Linked DNA regions of Homo sapiens: region 1 is linked to region 2. Evidence: promoter capture Hi-C in human tissues and cell types (Jung and others, 2019). All regions are on one chromosome and are shown on one strand. The core of a region is centred on a gene start or on the middle of the fragment in contact, and the rest is flanking DNA. Distances in the headings are between cores, read along the strand shown.

What was found. Contacts are between HindIII fragments. The study calls those that stand out against the background at their distance.
Region 1: a fragment that was not itself captured here is called in contact with the fragment with the promoter of NWD1 in region 2 in 1 of the 25 tissues and cell types used here (adrenal gland).

What each region holds. Positions count from the first base shown.
Region 1 is chr19:16,579,145-16,585,168 of GRCh38, reverse strand. All of the region lies in intron 1 of MED26 (mediator complex subunit 26), which reads left to right. Among named protein-coding and RNA genes, the nearest start is that of SLC35E1, 9.7 kb to the right of the region's middle. RefSeq lists enhancers at 1-350, 1,050-1,239, 2,036-2,607, 2,608-3,179 and a silencer at 3,357-3,406. The HindIII fragment of the contact is 7,303 bases long and covers 726-6,024 here.
Region 2 is chr19:16,714,983-16,721,116 of GRCh38, reverse strand. NWD1 (NACHT and WD repeat domain containing 1) reads right to left here and starts at 1,270. Exons shown (of 19, transcript NM_001007525.5): 1 at 824-1,270. The HindIII fragment of the contact is 25,691 bases long and covers 1-6,134 here.

The sequences.
Region 1 (6,024 bases), core at 3,128-5,627, 140 kb after region 2:
TCTGCACCAGGTCTGTTAAGCAGCAGCCCAGTACCAGAGTAGGGGAGCTTGGTGAGGGGCTCCTGGGGTCTCACCAGATAGATGGTGTTGTGCAGTTCAAATCAGTTAGGAGGCCTGAGACTTGAGACAGGCTCACGTGGAGGGAGGTGGCATCCTACCCAGCCCTCGGCCCTTGCTGCCCCACTCAGGGGCCAGATGGTGGACAGTGAAGCCACTATGAGGAGTTGGAAACAGCTATTTGCTCACTTCCCCTTTAGATGGCTGCCAGTCCTTCTAGATCAGTGAACTCTCCCAAACAAATGCTAGGAAATAGATGTATTTTCTCATCTTTATTTGTGAGAAATTTCAAGCATAAAAGTAGAGAAAGGTAACCATCCTGCTTCAGTAGATAGCTGCTTACAGCCATGTGACTTTGTTTCACCCATCCCCCTCCTGTCACTCACCCTAGGGGATGATTCTGTAGCAAATTCCAGATTGTATTATTTCTTCAGGAAAGTGTCACTGAAAGACGAGGATGCGTGGTGGGTCTTTAATAGCTCACACGGAGCGTGGTGTGCTGTGAAGTCGCATACAGGGTTCCCCACTGCTCCCAGGGTGTGGGAGAATGAGGTGTCTCACGCAGCTCCAGGCGCCTGACCCAGGCTGCTTCTGAGGGGTGCTGGCCCCTCCCTCAGGCTGTCTCTGTGCGTGTCCAGCCCCGCCTCCTTCCTCACATTTCCTGTGAGCTGAACAGCACATGTCACCAGTTAGGCTGGCTGGAATTGTGGCTTAGCACAGGCTATGGGGCTCTCTGGGGACAAAGGTGCCAGCCTTTCCGGAAGCCTTTCTTTTTTTTGTTTTGTTTTTTGTTTTTTTTTGGCGGGGCGGGGGGGGGCAGTGTTTGGGTTTCGGTTTTTTTTTTCTTTTTCTTTTTTTTGAGACGGAGTCTTGCTCTGTCACCGAGGCTGGAGTGCAGTGGCGTGATCTCAGCTCATTGCAACCTCCGCCTCCCAGGTTTGAGCGATTCTCCTGCCTCAGCCTCCCGAGTAGCTGGGATTACAGGTGCACACCACCGCGCCCGTGGAAGCCTTTTTAAGTTCTCATGTGGAAGGATGACCACAAAAGAGCCCTGGGACAGCCAGACCTCTTGTGGTCTTGGGCGAGAAGTTGTCCCCTCCATGCCCCCATGCGTGTGTTCCTGGGGCATCCCTGAAGTGTGGGGCACCTGTGTGCTGAGGGTTGTGCTGGTGGCCCCAGTTCACCCTCTGCCTGGATGCAAACTGTTCTTCCTCAGTATCTATGCTAGCTGTGATGCCTATGACCTGAGACCAGGCCTCCCTGCTTGGTTTTTCTGAGATTCCAGAAGGACGAGATTAATGTTCACATTCCTATTGGCCCATGTGTACCTGATCATGCCTCATGGATTTCCATTCTAAGACCTGAAAGTGTTCGGTGTGACAGTGGAGTCAGTTCCATCAACATTCATGTACCAGGCGGCTGGGCTGGACCTGCATGTATACCTGTGCCACACCTGGTCCCACCTGCTAACTTCCTGCCCTGCCTGCCTTTGGAGCAGGCACCCCAGGGAGGTCCCACCTGCTTCCAGAGTGCTCCTTGCTGCATTTACCCCTGCTTCTCCTAGTAGCTGCATGGAGGTTCTGCTGTCGACACCCCCCACCCCCACCCAACACCCTTGCCCTTCACAGGCACTTCCCGCAGCAATGAAGAGGCCAAACTGAAGCAAATTAAGTGGGCAGGGGCGGTCAGTGTTGGTAGAAAGGGGAGGCAACGCCTGTCTTCGTTGATGGTTAAGGAAGTTCAGACCCATCTGCATCTATTGAGGGGTCCCTAGTGGAGAAGTGAGAGGCTACAGTTCCTGACGGGATTCCTGCCCCTTTGGGAAAGCAACTTGGCAGGTGTTTTGAGAGGTTTTTTTGGACTGGGAACAAATCCCAAGGGAGAATCCAAAGGAGGAGGGGGCCTCAGATGTGCCAGGCTATTCCTGACAGCAAGAGGCTGCAATTGGCCATCGGGCCACAGACATGGCCCTGGCAAGCCTGAAGAGCTGCCTTAAAGCCATCTTTTGAGGCCATCGCCTGGAGCGGCTCCCCATGTGGAGTCAAACTGTGTCTGTGCTGAGATTAGGATCTAGTGTACTTCCCCAGATAGATGGACAGGTGCCAAGGGCATCCCAGAAACAGGGCAAGGGCAGGTGGTCTGTGGGGGCAGTCGCTAAGGGGGATAGAAGACAGGTTGTGAAGGAGCCACCTTGGGTCTTTTGGGTCTGTTTTTCCTCCCGGTGTCCTTACCCATGGCCTCTCCCCTGCCGCAGGGCTTTGGTGCTGTCTGGCCAGCTCCCTGCCCATCCTTCTCCAGCTCTTTTCTGCTTTCCAGCATGGAAGTCGGTCTCCAGCCCAGGTGGACACAGCTCGTTCTGCCACATCCTTTTTTGACCTCCCTGGGAGGCCACCTTAGGTGCTGCCCTCCCCCTGTGGCCTGCCTCCCTGCCCTGAGGGTTCATGCTGGACTTAGCAGGCCTGGAGTCAGAGCGGGAGCCTCCCCTCAGCCACATACGAGTCCTGGTGTCTCTGTCACTCACAGAGGGCCACCTCCATGAGAGTGGGAGACCTGCCACTCCTGGGTGGGGGGTCAGTTGGTTGTTAAGGCAGGGTCCCCAGGGCCAGGGTCAGAAGCCAGCTCCTATTTTGCTCCTATGGGACCAGCACCAATTGGGTGCTAAGTGTTCTTTGGGACAGACTGTGGCCATCTATAAAGAGGCTCTGTGGAGCCTTCTGGCTCAGTGTGCCTGGGGTCGGGGCCAGGCCCTTTGCAGGGATTCCTCGCTGCATTGCTCAGTGTCTGCCTCCTGGGCCTGGGAGGCCTGTGTCTGGATGCCCAGGTGGTGCTCCCCACACAGTGTTCAGACTGCTTGACATCAATGCCCCAGAGGTCGCAGGGCAGGGCAGTCTCACCTTGCCCCCATCCTTAGCTCTGCTGACATCACTGACTGCCTTCTGCTGGCTCCAGGGAGTGGCCGCACTGGACACTCACCCTCTCTCTGTGTCTTACACAACACACATTTATCATCTCAGGCTCTAGGGCTCAGAAGTCAGCTCCAGTCTCACCGGGCTGGGATCCAGGAAGCAGCGAGCTGCGCTCCTCTCTGGAGGATCCATTTTCTGCCCCTTCAGGTGTTGGCAGAGTTCATCTGTTTACGGCGTAGGACTGTGGGTTTCTAGCACCTTACAGGTAGAGCAGGCGGGCTCCTCTACTCCTCAGGTGAGCAGCTCACACGGTGGGGACAGAAAGGGGACTGCCAAGGCTGTAGCATTTCCCTTGGGGCTCCTAGAGGCTGAAGGCCTCTCTGCACACGCTTAAGCGTGGCTCATAAGGCAGGGGAGGGGCCAAGGGTAAGGATACACAGTCACAGGGCCCTCACACCTTCGCCTGGTGTCCCCAGCTCCCACACAGTTTCCAGGAGACTCTTGGGACTGGCTGTTAGTTCAGCGGTGATTTCTGGGGCACCAGCTCAGTACCAGACCCTGGGGTTGCCCAGGTGTTCTGTCTCCTCCCTCTTGTCTGGCAGCAGGATGGTGTCTGCCCAAGGACAAGGACACTTTGTGCCACCAGGCTAGCTGGGTCTGGGCAGTGTTCTGCTCTGCAAGGACTGCTGCTTCAGGAGTATGTGGGGAACCAGGGCTCCAAATATACCAGGGTGAGGTCAGCAGGGTGGAGGTGAAGCCATGTGGCAAGCCCAGGGACTGAGTCGGTGCTGGAGTGCCTGGGGCAGGGAGTGGTTGGCCTTGCTGTCTGTCTGGGACTGGCCTCCTCATCGCACAGTCTTCCCCTGCACTGATCCCTGCCCATTGCACGAGGAGTGCGGACAGGACTGTATCTCCCCTCATATCACCCGTCCACCCCCACCATGACACAGCTTGAAGCAGGGTTTTCAGGGTCATTTGGAGCCCTGAATGGAGAACATTGCAAGGCAAGGCCGTTGTTGCCAAAGAGCAAATGGGCCCATTGGCAGGGCAGCTTTGTGGGAGTTCTGCGGGGACTGCTGTCGTGGCTCTGCAACTTTACACCCAGAGGAGACAACACGGGAAGGGAGGGAGTGGCAGTGGCTGCCTCCCACTGGAAGTGGGGCAGAAGAGTAGAAAAGCCAGAATCCATGAGGCCAGCAGAATTAACAGCCCTCAAGGACGTCCACATTCTAGTCCTGGAGCCTGGGCACATGGTACCGTACATGACAGATGTGACTAAGGGAACAGCCTGGAGATGGGGAGGTGATCCGAGATCATCTGGGCAGGCCCTGCCTAGTCAGGGAGTCCTTAGAGATGGCACCTATCCTGGCTGGGTCAGAGAGATGCCGGGTGAGGACTCAGCCTGTAGCTGGCTTTGAGCATAAGGGGAGGGGGTGTGAGCTGGATGCAGTGCCCTCCAGAAGCTGGGAATGGCTTCGGATGACAACCAGCAAGAAAATGGGCCTCATTCCTGTAGTGTAAAGAGCTGAACTCTGGGCCGGGTGCAGTGGCTCACGCTTGTAATCCCAGCACTTTGGGAGGCCGAGGAGGGCAGATCACCTGAGGTCAGGAGTTCAAGACCAGCCTTCAACATGGTGAAACCCTGTCCCTACTAAAAAAAAATACAAAAATTAGCTGGGCGTGGTGGCGGGTGCCTATAATCTCAGCTACTCGGGAGGCTGAGGCAGGAGAATTGCTTGAACCCAGGAGACGGAGGTTGCAGTGAGCCGAGATCGTGCCATTGCACTCCAGCCTGGGCGACAAGAGTGAAACTTCATCTCAAAAAAAAAAACAAAATAAGAGCTGAACTCTGCTAACACCTGAAGGAGCAGGAAATGGATCCTCTAGAGAGGATCCCAGCCCAGTGAGACTCAGACCTGATTTCTGAGCCCTAGAGCCTAAGATGATAAATGTGTGCTGTGTAAGATGCTAAGTTTACAATCATGTGTTACGGAAACTCTTGCCACGCAGTCTTGGCAAGGATGTGGCCTGGTGGGAATGGAATAGAGCAGCCTCCCTGGGGGTGAGGTGACCACCCTGCATGGATGTGGAGCCCCAGCTCCTCCATGGCTGTCTGTGCACTAGCTCAGAGTCAGGTCTGTCACTGCCGTCGGTTGCAGCCTTATTTTGTAATGGCGGACGGAAAGTGCCTAAGTGTCCCACAGCATTCAAGTCGGGCCTTCCCCACTCTGGAAGGGATGGTGAGCCAAATGAGGGGCTCTGTTTGAGGCTGGACATTGCTGACATTAAGTCAGAAAAGGCAAGAACCACTGTCAGTTTGGTTTTGAAATATGTGATAAGTGTGGATGTATACGCCTATATACACAAGGGATATTTTTGGAAAAAAATGCAAGGAAATGCTACAGTGGCTGGGTCAGAGATGCCCATTTCCTTGTGTGCCCTTTTATGCTGTTTTAATTTGTATCATGTGCCCGCTTAACTCCTTTATCATGTTGGGGTGGGGGGGAGTTGAGTAATCTACTCACTGTGGTTTCCTCAGGGCCCCTGGGCTCCCACCCGCTAGCCAGCCCACCAGAAACCTGTAGTTGCTGGAGGTGGTGGTTGAGTGGTAGGAATTCTTGTTGTAACAATTAAGGGAGTCAGTAATGTGTGGGAAGTGCTTAGAACAAGGTGTGGCTCCTAGCAAGATCCTAAAAGGGAGGGATTACTTGGTCATGGGATGTGTTCATGCTTCACTCTGCCAGACAAAGCCCAGCAGTCCCCAAAGTCAGCTGTATCCCCCGAAGTACCTAGTGTTGTCAGTGGGGCACGTGTATCATGTATCCATTTGTGGGTTCAGTTTGAGTTTTCCTGATTATCGATAAAGCTGAGAGGCTGAGCATCAGCACTGACATTTCATTGCCGTGTGCCTGTTCCTGTCTTGTGGCCAGTCTACGCCGGGCTCCTGGTCAGCTGTACTGCTGTACAGGCATTCTGTGTTCCAGATACAGCTCCTTGGGGGCCTGTGGCCTATGCCTTCTCCCACTTTGTGACTTTCTGCTCTCTTTATGGTGTCTTTGGA
Region 2 (6,134 bases), core at 21-2,520:
GCACTTTGAGAGGCCAAAACAGGCAGATTACTTGAGGCCAGGAGTTCGAGACCAGCCTGGCCAACATGGCGAAACCCCATCTCTACTAAAAATACAAAAATTAGCTGGCGCGGTGGCATGTACCTGTAATCCCAGCTACTCGGAAGCCTGAGGCAGGAGAATCGCTTGAACCCGGGAAGCAGAGGTTGCAGTGAGCCGAGATCGTGCCACTGCGCTCCAGCCTGGGCAACAGAGCAAGGCTCCATCTCAAAAAGAAAAAGTCTCGGCCAGGTGCGGTGGCTCACGCCTGTAATCCCAGCACTTTGGGAAGCCGAGGAGGGCAGATCATGAGGTCAGGAGATCGAGACCATCCTGGCTAACACGGTGAAACCCCGTCTCTACTAAAAATACAAAAAATTAGCCGGGCATGTGGCGGACACCTGTAGTCCCAGCTACTCAGGAGGCTGAGGCAGGAGAATGGTGTGAACCTGGGAGGCAGAGCTTGCAGTAACTGAGATCACGCCACTGCACTCCAGCCTAGTGACAGAGCGAGACTCCGTCTCAAAAAAAAAAAAGTCTCCCTAGACATTGCAATGTCCCCTAGGGGGCAGAATTCCCCTTACTCGAGAACCCCCTAGTCTAATGCATTTAGCTTATTTCAACCTCAGGGCCTTTGCACGTCCTGTACTTTAGTGCTCTATGCTGCATCTGTTCATGTTGTTCACATTTTAGCTTCAATGCTACCTCCTCCTGAGAGGCTGTCTCTGACCATCCCATTGCGTAGTGACCCCTTAAGTCACTCCCAATGCCATCGCCTTATTTTAATTTTCTGCATGGTACTCACCAACAGCTGATATGTTTCTACATGTTATTGTTTGTCTGTCCCACGAGAAAGTGAATTCCATGAGCCCAAGGATCTTGTCTGGTAAGGCTGGCGTGCCTGGCACATAGTAGGTGCTCAGTAAATTATCATCACAACAGCTTCCTCCACAACTGTTTCTCTTTCTGGACTTCTGTTTGTTGCTGAAGAAGACAGCTGAGCAGGACTGGGCTTCCCCAGTAAGGACAGAGGCCCTTTGCAGTGTCAGCGTTCTGGCTGTCCTGGGGGCTCCAGCCTCTCTTTAGCCTTTGCTGGTAGTTGAACGACCAATTTAGACTCCTCTGGGGAAATAGGTTAGAGAGGACAGTTTCCTGGCCTCGGCGCCACCCGGAAGACAAGCCCCTGGCTATCCTAGTAACTTTCGTCTTAGGTATTTTATGGGTCTCTCCTTGCCCAATTCTCCCAGCAACTGGGATAATGAAAGCGATTGTTTGCACTAGGGCACCAGCTTAGCCGGGCATTCAGCCCAGACTTAGTGGTTAACTATTGTGTGCCAGGCTGATACGGCTCCTCGTAAAAGATGCCATTTGCTGACAGTCTAGGAGGTGCAGTTGGTTGGCATTTGGCATTAGCAGTCCACATTATTACCCCAAGAGACAGACATTATGATCCTGTTTCACAGATGAAGAAAACAAGATGCAGAAAGGTGAAGTCCCTTGCCTGTGACGCTTCACTACTCTGCACTTGAATTTTCTCACTAACTTCCTGTGTTGGTGAGACAATGAAAAGCATTTATATAGAGAGTGAGACTAACACTACACCTACATCACAGGAAGGGCCCGTGAGATGTTAGCCATGATTAATTACCATTAAAACTCCAAGACCGGGCACGGTGGCTCATGCCTGTAATCCCAGCACTTTGGGAGGCCGAGGCAGGCGGATCACCTGAGGTCAGGCATTCAAGACCAGACTGGCCAATATGGTGAGACCCCTATCTCTACTAAAAATAGAAAAATTAGCTGGGCGTGGTGACGCATGCCTGTAATCCCAGCTACTTGGGAGGCTGAGGCACAAGAATTGTTTGAACCTGGGAGTTGGAGGTTGCAATGAGCCGAGATCCTGCCACTGCACTGCAGCCTGGGCGACAGAGCAAGACTTTGTCTCAAAAACTCACAAATCACCCGGGCATGGTGGCTCACGCTAGTAATCCCAGCACTTTGGGAGGCCAAGGCAGGCAGATCACGAGGTCAGGAGATCAAGACCATCCTGGCTAACACGGTGAAACCCCGTCTCTACAAAAAAAACAAAACAAAACAAAACAAAAAATTAGCTGGGCGTGGTGGTTTGCACCTGTAGTCCCAGCTACTCAGGAAGCTGAGGCAGGAGAATGGCATGAACCCGGGAGGTGGAGCTTGCAGTGAGCCGAGATCGCACCACTGCACTCCAGCCTGGGTGACAGAGCGAGACTTTGTCTCAAAAACTCACAAGTCACCCAGGCATGGTGGCTCACGCCAGTAATCCCAGCACTTTGGGAGGCCAAGGCAGGCAGATCACGAGGTCAGGAGATCAAGACCATCCTGGCTAACATGGTGAAACCCTGTCTCTACATAAAAAACAAAAAACAAAAAACAAAAAATTAGCTGGGCGTGGTGGTTTGCACCTGTAGTCCCAGCTACTCAGGAAGCTGAGGCAGGAGAATGGCATGAACCTGGGAGGTGGAGCTTGCAGTGAGCCGAGATTGCGCCACTGCACTCCAGCCTGGGCGACAGAGCAAGCCTCCATCTCAAAGAAAAAGTAATAATAATAGTGTTACTATATTTTCAGGGATAGAAGTTTCAGATACTTGGTCAGGCGCGGTGGCTCATGCCTGTAATCCCAGCACTTTGGGAGGCCGAGGTGGGCAAATCACCTGAGGTCAGGAATTTGAGACCAGCTTGGCCAATATGGTGAGACCCCATCTCTACTAAAAACAAAAATTAGCCAGGCATGGTGGCAGGTGCCTGTAATCCCAGCTACTTGGGAGGCTGAGGCAGGAGGATCACTTAAACCTGGGAGGCAGAGGTTGCAGTGAGCAGAGATTACGCCATTGCACTCCAGCCTGGACGACAGAGCCACACTACACTCCATCTCACAAAAAAAAAAAAAAAAGAAGTTTCAGGTGCTGCCAGGCACAGTGGCATGCTCCTGTAGTCCCAGCTACTGGGGAAGCCAAGGTGGGAGGATCACTCAAGGCCAGGAGTTCAAGACCAGCCTGGGCAACATAGTGAGACCCTCATCTCTACAACAACAACAATAACAAAAAATTAGCTGGGCGTGGTGGTGTGTGCCTGTAGTCCCAACTACTCGGGAGGTTGAGGTGGGAGGATTACTTGAGCCCAGAAAGTCAAGGCTGCAGTGAGATATGATTGCCTCACTGCACTCTAGCCTGGGCAACAGAGCAAAACCCTGTCTCTTTAAAACAAAAAAAGAAAAAGAAAAGAAAAGAAGTTTTAGGGGCTGAAATTTTAGGAAACATACTGTCTCCAATACTCCAAGCAATCTGGGGGCTTCAATTTACTATCCCAGTTCATTGATGATGAAAACAGGCTTCCAGACCAACGTGATGAAACCCTGTCTCTACTAAAAATACAAAAATTAGCTGGGCGTGGTGGTGAGCACCTGTAATCCCAGCTACTCGAGAGGCTGAGGCAGGAGAATCGCATGAACCCGGAAGGCGGAGGTTGCAGTGAGCCGAGATCACGCCATTGCACTCCAGCCTGGGTGACAAAGTGAGACTGCGTTTAAAAAAAAAAAGAAGAAGAAAGAAAATAGGCTTCAAAGAAGTTAAACAATTTCCCAAGTTTCCTTGGCAAGGAAGTGAGCTAACAGCCAAATTCGGATATGATTCCAAAACTCCACAGTTATTGGCTAAACTGGAATCTACAGATATTAAAAAATTATTGGCAAAGTTTTTGCAGTGTGACAATGGTATTGCGGTGAGGTTTTTGTTTTTATTTTTGTTTTTGTTTTCGAGACAGTTTTGCTCTTGTCATCCAGGCTGGAGTGCAATGGCATGATCTTGGCTTACTGCAACCTCCGCCTCCCACGTTCAAGCAATTCTCCTGTCTCACCCTCCCGAGTAGCTGGGATTAGAGGCACCTGCCACCACACCTGGCTAATATTTTGTATTTTTAGTAGAGACGGGGTTTCACCATGTTGTCCAGGCTGGTCTGGAACTCCTGACCTCAGGTGATGCACCCGCCTCGGCCTCCCAAAGTGCTGGGATTACAGGCATGAGCCACCATGCCCAGACTGGTTAGGCTTTTAAAGAGTCTGGGCCAGGTGCAGTGCCTCATGCCTGTTATCCCAGCAGTTTGGGAGGCCAAGGCAGGAGGATCACTTAAGCTCAGGAGTTCAAGACCAGACTGGCCAACATATTGAGACTCCATTTTTACAAAAAATTAAAAAATTAACTAGACATGGTGCATGTGCCAGTGGTCCCTGCTACTCTGAGGTGGAAGGATCACTTGAACCTGGGAAGTTGAGGCTGCAATGAGTCGTGATCACGCCACTGTGCTCCAGCTTGGGCAACAGAGTGAGACCCTGTCTCAAAAAAAAAAAAAAAAGAGTGTGTATGTTTTAGAGACATATAACAAAATATTTATGGAATGATAAGATAGCTGAGATTTGCTTCAAAATAATACCTGACAGGAAGGCAAATGGGATGGGGGCGGGGTTGGCGAGGTTGAGTAGGGGGTGATGGTGGTTAGGGTGGGCTGCGGTTCATTATACTATTCTGCCTACTTTAGTGAGTGTTTTAAATTCCCTATCAGAATATGCTTCAATTTTGTACTCTTAAAAAATAGTGGCTGGGGCCGGGCACACTCCCAGCACTTTGGGAGGCCCAGGCGGGATGATCACTTGAGGCCCAGAGTTTGAGACCAGCCTGGCCAACATGGTGAAATCCCATCTCTACTAAAAATACAAAAAAAAAAAAAAATTAGCCAGGCGTGGTGGTGCATGCCTGTAATCCCAGCTACTTGGGAGGCAGAAGCAGGAGAATTGCTCGAACCCAGGAGGCGGAAGTTGCAGTGAGCTGAGATCACACCACTGCACTCCAGCCTGGGGGACAGAGCAAGACTGTCTCAAAAAAAAAAAAAAATAGTGGCTGGGAATGTTGGCTGACGCCTGTAATCCCAGCATTTTGGGAGGCTGAGGCAGGTGGATTGCTTGAGCCCAGGAGTTCGAGACCAGCCTGGACAATATAGTGAGATCCCATATCTACAAAAAATAAAAATTCACCAGACTTGGTGGTGCATGCCTGTAGTCCCAGCTACTGGGCAGGCTGAGGTGGGAGGATCACTTGAGCCCAAGAGGTTGAGGCTGCAGTGAGCTATGACTGCACCACTGCACTCCAGCCTGGGTGACAGAGCAAGACCCTGTTTTAAAAAAAAAAAAAAAAATCGTGATTATCCTTATGCATTGAGTAACCACGAGCCCAGGGCTAGGGGATTTCTGTGTAGTCAACCTTAGAACCAACACAGGGGTTAGGAGTGCCAAGCTCACCCCTACAGTCAAAAATCTGCATGTAACTTTTGACTGCATGTAACACCTACTATTGACCAAAAGCCTTATTGATGACATAAATGGTCGATGAACACTGATTTTCTACATTCTATGTATTATATACTGTATTCTTGCAATAAGTAAGCTAGAGAAAAGCAAATGTCACTAAAAAAATTCTGGTGTTTTGTTTTTGTTTTGTTTTTTGTTTGTTTGTTTCATTATTTGAGATGGAGTCTCACTCTGTTGCCCAGGCTGGAGTGCAGTGGCATGACCTCAACTCACTGCAACCTCTGCCTCCTGGGTTCAAGCGATTCTCCTGCCTCAGCCTCTGAGTAGCTGGGATTACAGGCGCCCACCACCACGCCTGGCTAATTTTTGTATTTTTAGTAGAGGCAGGGTTTTGCCATGTTGGCTAGGCTGGTCTTGAACTCCTGGCCTCAGGTGATCCACCCGTCTTGGCCTCTAAAGTGCTGGGATTACAGGAGTGAGCCACTGTGCCCGTCCAAACTTCAAAGGAAGAGAAAACATATTTACTATGGATGAAGTGGAAGTGGATCATCACAAAAGTGTTCATCCTTGTCGTCTTCACCTTGAGCAGGCTAAGGAGAAGGAGAAGGAGGAAGAACAGAAGGAGGGCTTGGTCTTGCTGTCTCAGGGGTGGCAGGGGTGGAAAAAAATCCACGCCTGAGTACATCCGTACAGTTCAAACTCGTGTTGTTCAAGGGTCAACTGCACTTCCTTCGTCATCCCTGCGTGGCTAACATTATAATACCCACTTTGCAGAAGAGGA